Linked DNA regions of Homo sapiens: all the other regions are linked to region 1. Evidence: promoter capture Hi-C in human tissues and cell types (Jung and others, 2019). All regions are on one chromosome and are shown on one strand. The core of a region is centred on a gene start or on the middle of the fragment in contact, and the rest is flanking DNA. Distances in the headings are between cores, read along the strand shown. Region 1 holds the start of MAPKAP1 (MAPK associated protein 1). Region 2 overlaps MAPKAP1 (MAPK associated protein 1). Region 3 overlaps PBX3 (PBX homeobox 3).

Region 1 (2,534 bases), core at 24-2,523:
GATGTTTACACAACCACAAAATCAGCTAACGATGCATTTCTTGTGTCCTCATCATTAAGTGATGGATGACCATATTTGAAATACATGGGTAGACCCACCGTGTTTTTTGTTTTTTTGTTTTGAGACAGAGTCTCTGTCACCCAGGCTGGAGTGCAGTGGCCTGATCTTGGGTCACTGCAACCTCTGCCTCCCGGGTTCAAGCCATTCTCCTGCCTCAGTCTCCTGAGTAGCTGGGACTACAGGTGCACACCACCACGCCAGACTAATTTTTGTATTTTTAGTAGAGACAGGGTTTCACCATGTTGGCCAGGCTGGTCTCGAACTCCTGATCTCAAGTGATCTGCCCTCCTCGGCCTCCCAAAGTGCTGGGATTACAGGTGTGAGCCACCGTGCCTGGCCCCATGGCATATTTATTAATAAGTTTAAAATTGGGCAGGGGTCCCTCAGGGCTGAAATTCAACCTTGAGTTTTTTCTTTTGCTAAGGTGCGTTTTTGAGAGACTTCCCCAAGCATCTTTCAGGTGGGAGAACCACTCTCACTGCACTCCCTGAATCCTTTTTCCCCCTTCATCGTGGCTTTCTCTACTGATTTCCTCCGTGAGAGAGGAAGGGAGCAGCATGAGACACACTGAACTTCTGCCCTGTGCCAGTCCTCCTACATCTCCTGGAAACCTCCCAGCAGGGCTTGAGGAAGATTATTGTCACCTCCATATTACAGATATTATAATAAGAGAAATAACTAACATTGACTGCATGTTTACTATGTGTCAGGCACTATGCTGGGTGTTTTTCAAGCATCATCCCATTCGATTCCCACAGCAATATACTCTAAAGTTGAAACTATTGCCCTGGATGGGAAAACCCGAGGCTCAGAGAGAAGTGTCACATCCTAGGACACACAGCAAGTTATAAGAGCTGGCATTTGAACCCAGGTCTTTCTCAGAGAGGCTGAGCTGCCTCATCACTCATTTCTGGACGAACTAAGGGCTTTTCTCCGTGGAAATGGGGAGAAAGAAGATTCGATGGAGAAGCCTAACACTGATTCCTGCTCAAGGCAAGTCCAGGCACTGGCGCATCTTGCCAGAACTCAGTCTCCGACCCAGGCCTTTCCCTGCACTGGAGAAGCGGCGCGCATGCGCCCGGCCTCCCTCCCGGCCCCGCCCCGCGGGAAGCTACCGCTCCTTGCTTTCAGCTCTGGGGCTTGCGCACTACGTCCCCAGCCAGAGGCTCCTTCCCGGTCGGGGACTTCCGGAACGCCGGGGTGTGGTTCCGGGTCGTGTGCGGCTCGGGGTAATAGGGCTGCTGCTCGGCCGGCCGGCGGCGGCGAGCAGCAGGGGCATGAGGGCTAACCCGGGAAGCGGCAGCTGAGCGGGCCGGGAGGAGCGCCGGTCCCCGTGGATCCCGAGAGTGCAGAGCTCGGGGCAGGGGCCGGGAGGCGTGGGGGAGCCGGGCCCTCCCCTCAGGAACGTGTCCCGGGGCCGACCCGGCCCGTAGTGTGGAAGCAGCTTCAGGTAAAGGTTGCCCCAGCCGCCAGCTCCCCGCCCGTCCGTCAGCCCACCAGCTTGCCCACCTGGCGGCCCTCTCACCCCTCCAGTTTCAGCGCTGCCCGGCGGGCCGCCTGCCGGGCCCTTGTTCAGGTGGCCCGGGCGCGTTCGTTTCCTGGCCATTTCCAGAACTGGAGGCTGTCAGGAGTCTGAGGCGGGTGTGTGGTTTAGGGGAAAAGAAGCCAGCTGACCTGGTAGTGTGGGGGTGGGGGGTGTAGTTGACTCCGGCAGTTTCTGGGCCTGCACTTGGCAATATCTAGGTGCCCTGGTCTTCATAATGTGAAAATCAAGGTTTTCAAGCATTGACTGTGTGGTCCTTGTTTCCTTGCGTCCCTTCTCCCCCTCCCCCTTAAAGAGGTTAACAGCCTTACAGACTTTTTTCTAGCTACAGTGCTGCTGGAACTTTGATTCATTCTTTGTTTATGGGAGTGGCAAGGAGTCATTTAGATTTGTTTAAGGCTGGGAAAAAGAGATTGTAGCGTAAACAAGATTATGACTTTAACCAGAGACCCCCAAATTGACTCAGAAATTGGTTAAAACTTCCTTTTGAATGAATGAAAGTCACTTTGGAAGCCCACCACAGTACCTGGCACTGTACAAAGCACCATGTTGTTATAAACCCAAATCGGCAAAGTTCAAAACTTTCCCAGGTGTGAAGAGTCAAATGGAGACCCATTGGTTTAAAAAAAGCAGCGTTCTCATTCTCTGACAAGCAGGAGAGGTGGATCCGTAATGTTAAAACCCACTTGAGCAGAAGCCTAGATATGGGTTTTATTCCTTATATTTTATGAGCCCACACAAGGTACCTAGTAAACACGGAAAGAGTTCTTGATGAAGCAATAATTGTTTTCATGTTTTTCAGTTTACACACCTGCGGGATTTGGGGCATGCTGGTAGCCCTTTCCCATTCATCTGTGTGCTCATGCCTACCTTCAACTACTGTGTGTCCCAGACTGCACTTACACCCCCTTACATCTCCTAATCTGGCTCC
Region 2 (2,534 bases), core at 21-2,520, 220 kb after region 1:
CACTGATCTTCCAGTTGAGTTCTAGAGTTGGCATAGATCTTTTTAGAGAAGAGACACTGAAGTTGCTTTAATTTATAACTAGATTGGGGCCTTTTAGACTTGGTGTAAGACTCCTTGAACCATAAAATGAATGTTAAAGTCCCATGCAGTTTGTATCTATGAGTACAAGGAATCTTCCAGTAATATACGGTGAGTTCATCTGAGCTATGATTTAATGATTAGTCCTATTTGTTTGAAATAAAGTCATATAACTCTAAGTGTCTCCCTCAGTTCCAATTAAATCACATCTATGAAAACACTTTTAAAACTATAAAACAGTATTTATAATTAGCCTTGGTCTGATCACCTGAAAGTAAACCTATTGCTTTTATGTGTGTACAGGCTTTGCAGCTGTGTTTGTTGTCAGATTATAACACATATACACAGCTATAACTGCACTTTCGTTTCCCATTATTATTGTCCAAATAGATATCAGGGGCAATGAAAACATGGCATTATAACCAATAAAGTCAGCAGTTCTCAAACTTTTTGGTTTTAGGACCTCTTTATACTCTTAAAAGTTATTGAAGACCCAAAGAGCTTTTGTTTTGTTTTGTTATTTTGAGGCGAGGTATTGCCCTGTCGCCAGGTCTCGCCCAGGATGGAGTGCAGTGGCAAATCAGCTCACTGTAGCCTCAAACTCCTGGGCTCAAGTGATCCTCTCATCTCTACCTCCCGAGCAGCTGGGACTACAGGTGTGCACCACCATGCCCAGCTGACTTTTTTTTTTTTTTTTTTAACTTTCAGTAGAGATAAAGTCTCACTATGTTGCTCAGGCTGCTCTTCAACTCCTGGCCTCAAACAGTGCTCCCGCTTTGGCTTCCCAAACTGCTGGTATTACAGGTGTGAGGCACTGCACCTGGCCAAGCTTTTGTTTATTGAGTTACATCTATTAAAAATTGATTAATTTTAAAATATTTATTGAAAAACAGTAATTTCATTAATGTTAATGACAGTTTTATGTTTTTTTGTTTTTTTTTGTTTTTTTGGTTTTTTTTGAGATAGGGTCTCTGTCACAAGGCTAGAATGCAGTAGTACAATCACAGCTCACTGCAACCTCCACCTCCTAGGCTCAAGCGATCCTCCCACCTCGGCTTCCCCAGTAGCTGGGCCTATCGGAGCACACCACTAAGCCTGGCTGCTTTTTTTTTGTATTTTTTGTAGAGATGGGGTTTTGCCATGTTGCCCAGGCTGGTTTTAAACTCCTGGACTCAAGTAATTCACCTGCCTTGGCCTCCAGAAGTGCCGGGATTACAGGGGTGAGCCACCATGCCTGGCCCAAATGACAAATTTTATGAAAAGTAACTATAATTTCTTTAAAAAAAATTTTTTTGAGACAGGGTCTCACTCTGTTACCCAGGCTAGAGTGCAGTGGCGTGATCACAGCTCACTGTAGCCTCAACCTCCTGGGCTCAAGTGATCATCCCACCTCATCCTCAGTAGCTGGGAGTACAGGCATGAGCCACCAAACCCAGCTAATTTTTGTATTTTTTGTAGAGTCAGAGTTTTGCCGTGTTGCACAGGGTGGTCTCAAACTCCTAGACTCAAGCAATCCACCCACCTCAGCCTCCCAAAGTGCTGGAATTATATTCATAAGCCACCGCACCTGGCCTAAATTTTTTTTTTTTTTTTTTGAGACGGAGTCTTGCTCTGTCGCCCAGGCTGGAGTGCAGTGGTGTAATCTCAGCTCTCACTTCAGCCTCCGCCTACTGGCTTCAAGCGATTCTCCTGCCTCAGCCTCCAGAGTAGCTGAGATTACAGGCATGCCCCGCCATCCTCAGCTAATTTTTTGTATTTTTATAGAGACGAGGTTTCACCATGTTGGCCAGGGTGGTCTCAAATTCCTGACCTCAAGTGGTCCGCCCACCTTGGCCTCCCAAAGTGCTGGGATTACAGGTGTGAGCCACTGCACCTAGCCAGGCCTAAAATTTTTAATGAGAAGAGTGTCATTATTTTATTATATTGCAAGTTTCTGTAATGTCTGGGCTTATAGAAGACACCTGGATTTTCATATCTGCCTCTGCATTCAGTCCGCTGCAATACATTGCTTTGGTTAAAGTATGTGAAGAAAATTTGGCCTGACACAGATATGTTGTTGAAAAAGGGAAGAATATTTCAATAGCCTTTTCAGATAATTGTGGGTATTAATTTTTGTTACTATACCAAAACTCAAATGATAGTTTCTATTTTGTTGTTGTTTTTTTGTTGGTTTGTTTTGTTTTGTTTTGTTTTTTGAGACAGAGTTTCGTTCTTGTTGCCCAGGCTGGAGTGCAGTGGCGCAATCTTGGTTCACTGCAACCTCTGCCTCCCGGGTGTAAGCGATTTTCCTGCCTCAGCCTCCCAAGTAGCTAAGATTACAGGCGTATGCCACCATACCCAGCTGATTTTGTATTTTTAGTAGAAACGGGGTTTCACCATGTTGGTCAGGCTGGTCTCGAACTCTTGACCTCAGGTGATCCACCCACCTCGGCCTCCCAAAATGGTGGGATTACAGG
Region 3 (2,534 bases), core at 12-2,511, 210 kb before region 1:
GTAACTGGCTATACTTAAATATATATATATTATTAAATGAATATTGTTAAGCAATTGCCAGCAAACTATAAAACGAGGATACTAAATACAGTATTAAAAATGTGCCATTGACATGGCAATACAGTGCTGGGCACAGTAGTCTCAATCTAATTTTGCTTTTAAATCAAGAACTTCCTAAGTGATGCCCAGTCAGCAACCTCTTCTGAGTACTATAGATCATAGCTGACAATTCATAGGTTTAATCAGGTCACACAGGCTTTCTGCCAAAATGTTTTCAACAACACAGAAGACAAAGTTTTAAAATAATTATCATGGTATAAAAAGCATTGGAGTCATGACAGCTCAAAATCAGCATTTTCATTAATGTGTAACATAATCTAAAACATCCCAGCCCAATTAACCTCTGTAAATCTGCTTCAAAGCAGGTTCCCTACACTAGTTACAAGGCTTCTTGGGGAAGAGGGGAAAAGGAAGTTGGCACCTTGCTTGTTTGTATTTGGATTCTCTTTTGAGTCTGTGCCTGTTGTTGTTTATCCACAGTGGTACACACTTTGTGTCTAGTGTAACTTACATGACATAACATCTATAAGCTGCCAAGTACTCAACTGATCACCAACTCTGATTTTATATGCTAACCTAAAGCTACCGTCAATTCTTTTAAGAACAGATTTCATTCCTAGATGCCCTGAATTACATCCATGGCATGACAGAGCTCTTGGTTGCCTTAACACAAATGCAAAACTTTAATTTCTTCCCCAAAACACTTTAAAGCTGTCACTTTCATTTAAAATTATACTTCAGAATAATTTCAACTGGATAATAAAACTAACTCACCATAATTTAAAATTTTATCTGTTGTCTATTCAGAGGCAAATAAGGTTTGAAAACTATAATATACTAAGACAATATATTCATTTAGGAGAGCAAAAAGATAACTCATAAAATGCGTACCAACACACTGCTGATAATTAAAAATAGGCAAACGTATTTGCTGTTTCTTCTATAACTAAAAGGGACTGCCTAATATTGTTCTAGAACTGCCATGTATTGGTTAAGTTTGCATTTTTAATTTAAATCTTTAATTTTCCTCTCTTTTAATTCACTGTGTTAAATGTTAAAAATCTCACGACCTGTACATGCTTGTAGTTCACATAGCAAGTTTTTTGTGCATTTGGCATGCAATGAGAGCTTACTGAGCAATCTCTTATGCTGCACTTTGAATTGTTTAATTTTTTATTCTTGTTTGAGGACTTCTCAAGTTTCTCCATTTTCAACTGAATTTTTGCCCACAGTTTTGTGTGTTTGTTGATTTTTGTATTTACATAGACACTGGTGCCTCTCCTGAAATGTGTTTTTTTAATCTACCTTCAAGTTTCCTCCGGGTTTCTAGTTTTCCCCTTGTAGTTAAACACATTAATCTTTTCCCTATGGACATGTGGTGAAGTACTTTAATAGCAGATTAACTTCCATACCCAAAATGATTACACTTCCCTGCACATGTACGGCAAACAAGAGAAGAAGCTCAATGACAAACATACAAGGAAGTACACCATAAGAGAGACAGAAGGAAATTCATTAGGAACAAATGCAAAAGGCACAAAACTAATTAGCCATCTATGATACTTTTATACATATGTATATAAATACGTATATAAACCATCATTATTGTACCAATAAGAAGCAATCCATAAGCTCAAAAGCCGTGGACACAAATAAAAACAATTATAAGTATACAGTATCAATTACTATAACGTTTTACTCTTATAATGAAAAAATATCTTATTTCTAAAATTATCAGTAAATCAACACTAAGTGCTTGCCTCAAGAACAGGAAAATATGTTTTAATGCAATCCTTTGTATTTACTTTATAAATTATGTGCATCAAATTTCATCAGAAAAATCATTTCCTGACGGAAAACTCATAGTTCTTTAGATGAAAAGTACTAAAGTACTTTGCAAATAGGCAACAAGAAGAAGACTATCAATAATAAAGGAATTTTCATAACTAGTCTGAAAAGTGAATCGGTTTCTTTTCTTTATTAAGCAAAGTAATGATTATGGGATCTTTAAATACTAATACCTGGTTTCCAAAATTACTTTCAATTTGAATATTTCTATTTATTTTCTTACTTAAAAACATTTAGTTACCATTTTATTCCTCATCCTACCTACCTAGCCACTCACTATTACTTAGTTTACTAACTTTCTAGAGTTACACTGGCTTTTAGTCATAATACCTACTCCTCTGGGCACCTATAAACATTTTAATGGGTCTAAATTTGCAAGGGCCAGAATGAATCAGACTGTGTGGTTATCAAAATATCTTGATATCTTCAAATTGAAACATGGTAAAACAATCATTTAAAATTTGATTGTACTTGTTTTTAATCCAAAATGTATGTATAATGAAACATACAGAGGTTTATAAAGGTTTACATCTAGGTTCTTTGGTCATCACAACATTATAAAGTTTAAAAAATAAACCCTATTTGCAATCTACTTATAATCACAACATTCATTTCCGTATCCCTAA

Evidence for each region. Contacts are between HindIII fragments. The study calls those that stand out against the background at their distance.
Region 2: a contact is called between a fragment that was not itself captured here and the fragment with the promoter of MAPKAP1 in region 1, in 1 of the 25 tissues and cell types used here (H1 embryonic stem cells).
Region 3: a fragment that was not itself captured here is called in contact with the fragment with the promoter of MAPKAP1 in region 1 in 1 of the 25 tissues and cell types used here (stomach).

The regions. Positions count from the first base shown.
Region 1 is chr9:125,705,947-125,708,480 of GRCh38, reverse strand. It overlaps MAPKAP1 (MAPK associated protein 1), which reads left to right and starts at 1,273. Exons shown (of 12, transcript NM_001006617.3): 1 at 1,273-1,510. RefSeq lists enhancers at 900-1,059, 1,057-1,351 and silencers at 1,060-1,229, 1,340-1,569. The HindIII fragment of the contact is 13,511 bases long and covers 1-2,534 here.
Region 2 is chr9:125,490,279-125,492,812 of GRCh38, reverse strand. All of the region lies in intron 8 of MAPKAP1 (MAPK associated protein 1), which reads left to right. Among named protein-coding and RNA genes, the nearest start is that of MAPKAP1, 220 kb to the left of the region's middle. The HindIII fragment of the contact is 6,822 bases long and covers 1-2,534 here.
Region 3 is chr9:125,912,589-125,915,122 of GRCh38, reverse strand. All of the region lies in intron 2 of PBX3 (PBX homeobox 3), which reads right to left. Among named protein-coding and RNA genes, the nearest start is that of PBX3, 170 kb to the right of the region's middle. The HindIII fragment of the contact is 3,943 bases long and covers 1-2,534 here.